2 separate regions of the Homo sapiens genome follow, and region 2 is linked to region 1. The links are contacts of gene promoters, found by promoter capture Hi-C in blood cells and fetal thymus (Javierre and others, 2016). All regions are on one chromosome and are shown on one strand. Each heading gives the region's core, a stretch centred on a gene start or on the middle of the fragment in contact. The rest is flanking DNA. Distances are from core to core; before and after follow the strand shown. Region 1 holds the start of APLN (apelin). Region 2 has its middle 30 kb from the start of UTP14A.

What was found. Contacts are between HindIII fragments. The CHiCAGO score rates a contact against its expected background, and 5 or more counts as called.
Region 2: a fragment that was not itself captured here is called in contact with the fragment with the promoter of APLN in region 1 in 9 of 17 cell types (non-activated CD4 T cells, activated CD4 T cells, naive CD4 T cells and 6 more); the score reaches 11.9 in non-activated CD4 T cells.

The regions. Positions count from the first base shown.
Region 1 is chrX:129,652,418-129,657,006 of GRCh38, reverse strand. APLN (apelin) reads left to right here and starts at 2,051. Exons shown (of 3, transcript NM_017413.5): 1 at 2,051-2,443. The coding sequence starts at 2,377. RefSeq lists enhancers at 868-927, 938-1,027, 2,720-2,779 and silencers at 2,210-2,289, 2,380-2,429. The HindIII fragment of the contact is 20,761 bases long and covers 1-4,589 here.
Region 2 is chrX:129,873,685-129,878,098 of GRCh38, reverse strand. It overlaps the pseudogene SALL4P2. Among named protein-coding and RNA genes, the nearest start is that of UTP14A, 30 kb to the left of the region's middle. The HindIII fragment of the contact is 1,769 bases long and covers 959-2,727 here.

The sequences.
Region 1 (4,589 bases), core at 802-3,301:
AGACTAGAAGCCAGGTGTTTCTCCTCCTGGTTAGAAAATGCTTTCCATCCAGGCGTGGTGGCTAACGCCTGTAATCCCAACACTTTGGGAGGCCGAGGCGGGTGGATCATCTGAGGTCAGGAGTTCGAGACCAGCCTGACCAACCTGGTGAAACCCCGTCTCTACTAAAAATACAAAATTAGTCGGGCATGGTGGCGCATGCCTGTAATCCCAGCTACTCAGGAGGCTGAGGCAGGAGAATCGCTTGAACCTGGGAGGCGGAGGTTGCAGTGAGCTGAGATAGGGTATTGCACTCCAGCTTGAGCGACAGAGCAAAACTCGGTCTCAAAAAAAAAAAAAAAAAAAAGAAGAAAGAAAGAAAAAAGAAAAAAAGAAAAAGAAAAGAGAAAGAAAGCAAACTCTTTCCAGGGGAACAGTGAAGGGAGAATGGTCTCCTGCTACCCATGTCTGCTACTCATATCCTGGGTCTCAAGGATGAAGAGGGGTGCCATGCTTCACATGCTTTTTTTTTTTACTTGAGTGTGGTTAATGGGCCATAGGCTATTAATGAGAACCTTATCTTATTCCCTTCCTGCTACCTGAATTTAGGCAGTAAAGATGTTTTTGAAAATTTCATTTATATATTCAAAATTATGTATTGAGTACCAGTCATGTCGCAGGTACTGTTCTAGGTCTGGGGACACAGCTGTGAACAAAGCAAAGATCCCTCCCTTGTGGAGGTAACCCTTCTGGTGGAGAGAGACTGATAATAAATACATTGTGTATATATAGGATTTTTGCAACATTTCAAAGATATTTTAAATATGCCATGGTCTCTCATGTCTTTTATGGCACACACGCACCCTGTCCAATGTATCTTTTGTGTAAATCTGGACTTAACACTTCAAGCAAACTGCCTGGCTTGCTGAAAGGTGGAGACACCTTTCGATTCAGTCTTTTAATATGTGTTGAGTGCCACCTATGTGCAGAGCAAGATATTGGGGACTTTGGAGAGATCCAGAAGAGTGAGAAGACAGTATCCTACCTTAGGGGGTTCCCAGTCCAATGAGGGAAGCAGCCCCATGCCTTGGGAGCTCCCAAGCTATAGAAGCAGCTAACAATCGAGTCTGGAAAGGCAAACAACTTCAGGACCCGCTTCTAAAGCGGAATCGCAAGTACACGCAAAATGAATCCAGCCTTGACTGTGTGGAGTTGGGTAAACCACCTGCCTCTTACGTTGATGGGGAACTAGAATGAGGACAGCTCCAGGGAACAAGAAAGGGTAGACCATAGGAGCTGTCCCATGTCCCAACAGTGGGGAGGAGCTGATGGGCGGCCCCTGCTGGATTAGTGTTATCCTGAGAAGGCTTCTGGATGCGATGGGATTTGAGGTGCTGCTGCAAAGAATGAATTGCTCACGGAAGGGTGGGGTGGGGGCATTCCAGGTAGAGGGTGCCTCCTGGGGGATGCAGGGAACATGAGGGGCCTGGGCAATTAATCAAGCCTTGGGCACAAGCCTAGGCAGTCACCCCCAATTCAAAGCCAGTTGAAAATGCAGAGGAGAGAGGAGGGCCAGTGTTTGGTTGTCTTGACCAAACCCTTGAAGCTGGCCAGCGGCAAGGGCAAGGACCAGGGTCAGAGGTAGAGGGCGTGAGTGAAGGCAACCCAGACTGAGTCCTTCCCTAAGCGCCCAGGTTTCCTGACAGCTGTTAAGGAAGCAAGGTGAGAAAGGGTTAAGTGTGCCCCTCCACCGCCCCAAATGCTTCCTGTGTTTGAAATCCTTCAGGTCTCTGCAAACCCTCTGGCCCCCGGCCAGGCGGGCATTGTCCGGGGAGCGGTTGTAGGTTGTCAGAGAGGCCGCGCAGCCTTTGTTGTGGGGCCACCTCGGGGTTCCCTCTCGCGCTCACGCTCGGGCTGGGGCTGCAGAGTGCGTGCCTGGAGGGGGGCGGTGCGGGAGGCTCGCTCCCTCTCCCTCTTCCTGCCCCCCCTCTAGCCCTCCCGATGACCACATGACCAAGTGGGCTCGCGGCCAAGCCACAAGCTACAAAATGCAGCCCCTGGAGTGAGCGGGGAGCATTCTCTCTGGCAGCCGGGGTCACGGGCAGTTGCAGCCGCGGCCGAGCAGCCAGCCGCTAAGAAAGAGCTCGCCGCTGCCGCTCCCGGAGCCGCCGAGGCCAGCTTCGCGGCGCTGCCCCGCGGCGGGAGAGGAGGCTGCAGAAGAGCGGAGGCGGCCAGCGGGAGCGGCGGGGCTCAGCGCGCACACTCAGCGGCCGGGGAGCCTCCCGAGCTCTGCGCCCGCACGCGCCAGCCGCGGCTCGCGCCTTTCTTGGCCTCCGGGCGCCCGACCTCTCCTCCCCCGCGCCGGCTCGCCGGGGCCGCGGCGGCCCAAGGAGCAGCATGAATCTGCGGCTCTGCGTGCAGGCGCTCCTGCTGCTCTGGCTCTCCTTGACCGCGGTGTGTGGAGGTGAGTGCGCGCCCTCCCGCTCGCCCGGGCTGCAGCCGGCGTGCTCCTTTCCCTCCGCCCTATTCGCACTCTCCCCGCCTCCCGGGGAGCCCGGCGCGAGCCGTGCAGTAGCAGCCACGCGCCGGCCAGCGCCAGGCAGCAGATTGACAGAGCGCCCCGAGCCATGGGGCGGCTGGCCACAAGGACTGCTTCTTTTGCGGGGCTCAACTCGGCCTTTGGCATCACCTGCCCGTCACCTTGTCCCTCCTAACCGTCGCTCGCAGTCCCAGGAGCTCAGGACCACAGGTGTGCGCCGCGTGTCCCACGCCCTGCACCCCGCGTGGTAGAGGTGGAGGCGGGGGACATGCCCGCTCCCTCGTGGATCGATGGAAGGAACTGACCAGAGTCGAGTGGGCTGGGCTCCCATGTTGAACGTCTTCTGGTCCCTGAAGGCTGGGAGCCTCCCGCCAGTCCAGGGGCGCGGGAAACCGGGGATGATGTGCCAACATGCAGACGTGACACTTGTTGCATAGGCAGGAGTGCGCGGAGGGGGTGGCGGCATGGAGCCCAGCTGTTGCTCCTTTCGGCCTGCATGTGTGAGCAGAGGCAGCCTCCCCCAGGCAGGGCCGGGCCCAGCCGGGCTGGGCTGGTCTTCTCCTCCCTAACCCCAAGGTCCTGGCTGGTCTCCTCCCCTGCACAGGATGCCCTCCCCATAGCCTCCATCCCACCCCCAGAGACTTGGTTCTCTTACATCCTGGCTCCAGCCTTCCTTTCTGTCCCAGGCACGGACATGCTTCACTTTAGTCTCCCTGCCGCTAGGCACCAAAGGAGGAAGCACAGCACCTGACCCGACCCCTCCCTGCAGCTCAGGAAAGGGGAGTCCTTTTGCCCTCACCTGCCAATACTTGGCACTAGTGCCCATGTCCGCCCCTAGCCTGGTCCCCAACCACGCCCCAGCAGCCCCATCCCAGGCTGCCTGTCCTCTGTGTCAATGTCTCCTGGGGCTGCCAGCTCCCACCTCCAGCTGCCACAGTCCTATGATCTGGCTGTCATTGCTGCCTGCCTGGCACCACACAAGGGGAAGGCCAAGACCAGGTGGACTAACGCCAGGACCATGGCTGGAGTCACAGGGAGGTGGGAGCAGAAAGAAGGAGAAGGCAGGGCAGTGAGTTTCCTGGGGCAAGGGCACAGGGCCCTAAGTGGTTCCAAACCCTCCAGAACAGGAGGATGGCATGCAGCCCAGGAGCCTCCGAGGGGCCCAGCCAGCTCTGCCTGCCTCTCATCGCAGGCCACCTCCTTTCTCTGCTCTTGCTTTTTGGCCCTGCTGTGGCTCTGGGAACACTGCCTGGCTTCTCAGAAAGGTGCAGTGGTTGGGGCTGGCACCTCCTGCCTCCAGGTAGCTGGCCGGTGATTTCTCTATTCAAGACCTGAACACGAAGTGAGCCACCACCACAGTAAGAAGTGGGTAGGCTTTTTCCACAGAAACTCCTGTCAGGCAGGTAACAGAGGGAGCAAAAGATACGAATGTAAGATACGAATGATACACCATACCAGCCTATCCTCAGGGAGCCTACCATCTGGTGTCATTGGCAAGGCATGACACTTGCACAATACCACCACAGGCAAATAGTCCAGGGTGGTGCCTTCAGGGAAGAAGAAGACTGGGTGCAGAGAGTGTTCCAGAGGAAGGTAGGGCTCCTGGATCTGCACACTTGGTGCTCCCCCCAGAGGCTGTGGGGAGACCCCTGGCCAATAGACAACCACTCAGACCCTCCTGGGTCCCAGCCATTGGGACAGTACTAGCAAAGGGGAGAGAGCTGGTTTCAAGGGAAGGGAAGTCAGCCAGGATGCCCGAACACCATGTGGCTGGTCCAGAGCCTGCCACTTCGTGCTTTAATTCCCCCGTCTTCATTAGGTCATCTGTCCACTGTGATTTGGATAAATTCGTTGCCCTCACATTTTGCTCAAGCCTCGTGCTGGAAACTTTCAGGGCTCTCACTGACTTCTCTACTCCCTGACTTCTCCTGGAGCCAAGGAAGGGCATGTCCCTGGAAGTGGCCACCAGCCAAGGGTCCAGGTACACATGTCCTGCTCCCGCTGGCTCCTGTCCTGGGTTAGAAGCAGGAATCCCAGAACCACTTTGTCCTTGGCCCGGACTGGCATGCTG
Region 2 (4,414 bases), core at 594-3,093, 220 kb before region 1:
GAGCTAAATAAAGTGTACACACGGAGGTAGTGTGTGGAATGATAGACAACAGAGACTTGGAAGGGTAAGGCAAGGGGTGGATAATGAGTGATTACTTAAGGGGTACATTGTAGGTTATTTGGGTGATCAATACCCTAAAAGCCCTGACTTCACCACTACACAATCTATGCAGGTAACAAAATTACACTTGCACCCCATAAATTTATACAAATAAAAAATAATAAAAGAATAAAAAGCACAGTCTAGACTAGGGGTGTCCAATCTTTTGGCTTCCCTGGGCCACCTTGGAAGAAGAATTGTCTTGGGCCACACATAAAATACACGAATACTAACAATAGCCGATGAGCTTAAAAAAAAAATCACAAAAAAATCTCAGAATGTTTTAAGAAACTTCACGAATTTGTGTTGGGCCACATTCAAAGCCGCCCTGGGCTGCATGTGGCCTGCGGGCTGAGGGTTGAACAAGCATGGTCTAGACATTTCACTCTGTCTACATTTCTTCTTCCAGGCAAGTTCCCCTTTAGCTTAGCTGACCACAATCTTGTTTTCTTCCAGGAAGTGAGGGAACCAATGTGTGGGAACAGTCTCAGTAGCACCTGGTTTTTCCACATTGGCACTGATACCTGACTGGGAGCCATCCATCTTGGACTCAGCAGTGTTATTCACAGCAGAGTTGGCCCCCACAGAAACTGGGAGGGTGGGAACACCACCACTCTGGGTCATAGAGATCTCGCTAGTCTTCATGGCAAGACCACTGTTGAGCATGTTGGTATATTGGTTCCACCACCTTCACTGAAGGGGCCAGGATTTCCAGTAAACATTTCTGAGATTCTTTCCATTCATACCTAATTAAGCCATAGTGTTCTCAATGGCTAGCTTCCTTCTCTGGTGTGCTGAGTTATTGTTTGCTCCATGAGTCATACAGTGGACCTTCAAGTTGCCTTTGGTGGTAAAAGCTTGCCCATGTATGCTGCACACAAAAGGCTATTCTCTAGTGTGAGTCCACTTGTGAATCTGAAGAGCACTAGTGGATAAGAAGTTCTTCTCACACTGTGTGCAGCTGTGTTGCTTGGCCTGTCAGTGTGGCTGGGCCGCTAACACCAGGGACATGATTGAGGATCCAACAAATGTGCCAGTGAAAGGGGAGAGTTCCCTGGCCCCCCTCACAGGACGTGTGATGGGTGTGGCTTGTCTGTTTGGTCGCTGCTCAAACCTCTTACAGGAGGGGGAGTACACAGACAGACAGGTGCAGGAGCCCAAGTGGGCGTGTGTTACAGTGCACTCTTTTAGCCTTGCCATCTGCAGATGGCTTAAGTGTTAATCAGCTCAGTGGACCCTCTGCCTTTCTGCAAAGGCAGAGGGCCAGTGTGACAGTTTTCTGTATCCTGAGCTGTTGTCCAGAATCCTGGAAGAATCAGGTCACACATGGACTTGAAGGATGGAGAATGCAGGGTTTTATTGGGTGGTGGAGGTGGCTCTCAGTGGGATAGATGAGGAGCTGGACAGGGGATGGAGTGGGAAGATGATCTTCCCTTGCAGTTTGGCCATCTGGTGGCTGATTCTCTGACCACCCCCAGCAAAACTCCTGACGTTTCTTCTCTTCTCTCCTGTGCCGTGCCATTCTGCCATTTGTCTGCTCATCTCCTCATCTCCTGCTTCTGGAGCCTCGGGTTTGGGGTTTATATGGGTACAGGATGGGGGCGTGATGGGCCAAAAGGCAACATTTTCGGCACAAAAACAGGAATGCCTGTTCTCACTTAGGGCTGTGGATATCCAGGCTTGAGGGTGGGGCCTTTGCTGGGGAACTGCCCTCTTCTGTCCAGTATTTCCCTGTCTCCTATTTGTATTACCAGGAACTTCAACTTTTCATTTTTATTTTTTAGAGACAGGGTCTCTCCTTTTCGCACAGGCTGGAGTGCAGTGGCACAGTCATAGTTTACCACAACCTTGAACTCCTGGGCTCAAGTGATCCTCCTGCCCCAGCCTCATTAGTAGCTGGAATTACAAGCGCTAGCCACCAAACCTGTTAAAACTTGAACTTTGACATATGTTGACTGGGCTCAGAAAAACGTTGATGGGAGACAGCCCATCTCAGTGTGGCTGTTCTTGGGGTGCTCAGCTTTGCTCCCAGCATCTGGAGACTTTGTCATAATGCTTTCTGCTTGGCTAGTTGCTAGGGAGCGTGCCTGGAAGGATGTGGTTTCCACAGCATCTGGAGTTTGGCTAATAGTCCTGGTGTCCCATCAGTGAGAATGAGTCATTAAACTGTTGCTCTCCACTGAATCGTTTTTCAGCTGCTCTGCCTCTGCAGGCCAGAAGGAACAGGACCCACTTTCCTGGTGACTGCTAGGGAAGCCTTTGTGGCAAACCCTAGGGTGGGTTATATTAAGTGGATGCTAAGAAGAGGTGTGAGGACCTTTGAGTAGCTACTGGGGGCATCCTGGGAGCTGACTTTATCCACAGTGGTGTCTTCTTTCAACATCATCATGGCAGATGGCACTTGTATTACCATTCTCACTGACCATCATTGGCTCAGGACCCCTAAAATCACAGGGATTCTCTGGCGGGGACATGCTGGGAATCTGAGTGCCCATGTTCATCCAAATATGTTGTTGCAACATGACCACACTGGCAAATTTCTTTTGACTAATGGGGTATGTACTTATGGATGAGTTGGTTCCATGAACCCTGAGAAGTGTCTTTACGTTGCCTTTGGTAGAAAAAGCTTGTCCACAGATTTCACATAGGATGGGTCTCTCCCCAATGTGGGTGTGGTAATGTATGATTTTTTTCCAAGTGAGAGCAAATTTATTAAAGTAAAGGAATAAAAGAATGGCTACTCCATAGGCAGAGCAGCCCTGAGGGCTGCTGGTTGGCTATTTTTGTGGTTATTTCTTGACTACATGCTAAACAAGTGGCGGGTTTTTCATGAGTTTTCCGGGAAAGTGGTGGGCAACTCCTGGAACGGACGGTTCCTCCACCTTTTAGACCATAAATGGTAACTTCCTGACATTGCCTTGGCATTTGTAAACTGTCATGGTGCTGGTGGGAGTGTCTTTTAGCATACTAATGTATTATAATTAGCATATAATGAGCAGTGAGGATGACCAGAGGTTACTTTCCTCACCATCTTCGTTTGGGTGGGATTTGGTCTGCTTCTTTACCACATGTTGTTTTATCAGCAAGGTCTTTGTGACCTGTATCTTGTGCCAACCTCCTATCTCATCCTGTGACTTAGAATGCTTAACCTCCTGGGAATGCAGCCCAGTAGGTCTCAGCCTCATTTTACCCAGCCCCTATTCAGGATGGAGGCACTCTGGTTTGAACACCTCTGACATATTTCTCCCCTGCGTTTTACAAAGGAATCCTTAATCTTTTATTATTATTATTATTTTATTTATTTATTTATTTATTTTTTTGAGATGGAGGCTTGCTCTGTCACCCAGGCTGGAGTGCAGTGGCGCGATCTTGGCCCTCTGCAACCTTCCCCTCCCGAGTTCAAGCGATTCTCCTGCCTCAGCCTGCCAGGTAGCTGGGACTACAGGTGCGTGCCACCATGCCTGGCTAATTTTTGTATTTTTAGTAGAGATGGGGTTTTGCCATGTTGGCCAGGCTGGTGTCAAACTCGTGACCTCAGGTGATTCACCCGCCTCGGCCTCCGAAAGTGCTGGGATTACAGGTGTGAGCCTCCGCATCTGGCCAGGAACCCTTAATCTTAAGGGTTATAGAGGGACAAAGATCCATCTTCCGTAACTTCTTCAGGCTGAATTGGGCAATGATACTCCTGCCTACCTATTAGGGTCTCTTGTATTCAGGGTAGAGAGGAGCTCAGTCAGAAAGTGTAAGTATGGTGAGGGCCATCCATAACTCTTGAGTTCTGACAAAAGCTGATATCTGTAGTAAGTATTCAATTTAAGAAAATGTTGAGTAAGCTTATCCTGCATTCCTACACAAAGAGTACAGCAGCAATATTTTCCACAACAGTAAAACAAAGTAAGTAAAATTATTCCAAGTGAACTGAATAAGAAAGCTTTCCACGAACTGGGCAATTGTTGAAACCAAGCTGATATGGTGTCGCTAGCTGATTCTAATATGTGCCCAGAATTAGAATACTGACCCAGATTTTTACATTACCCATCCCTCTTGTTTCTTCTGAGCAGCAGCCAGAGATCACTGGTTGGTTCACAGGAATAAGCACGGTTAGTCTAAATTGCAGGAAAAAAAACCCTTAAAAACAACGAATGAGACTATAATTTAATAACAGGCGTACCATCGTTCTTGAAACAATTTTTCTCTCTCCAGTCTCCCATTTTTACTAAAGACAAATCATGGTAAGACTGATTTGCTTTATTATACTTGGCCTGATTATGTGTATAAAGTGCAGCAATAATAATAATAATTGTTAGATTTTTTT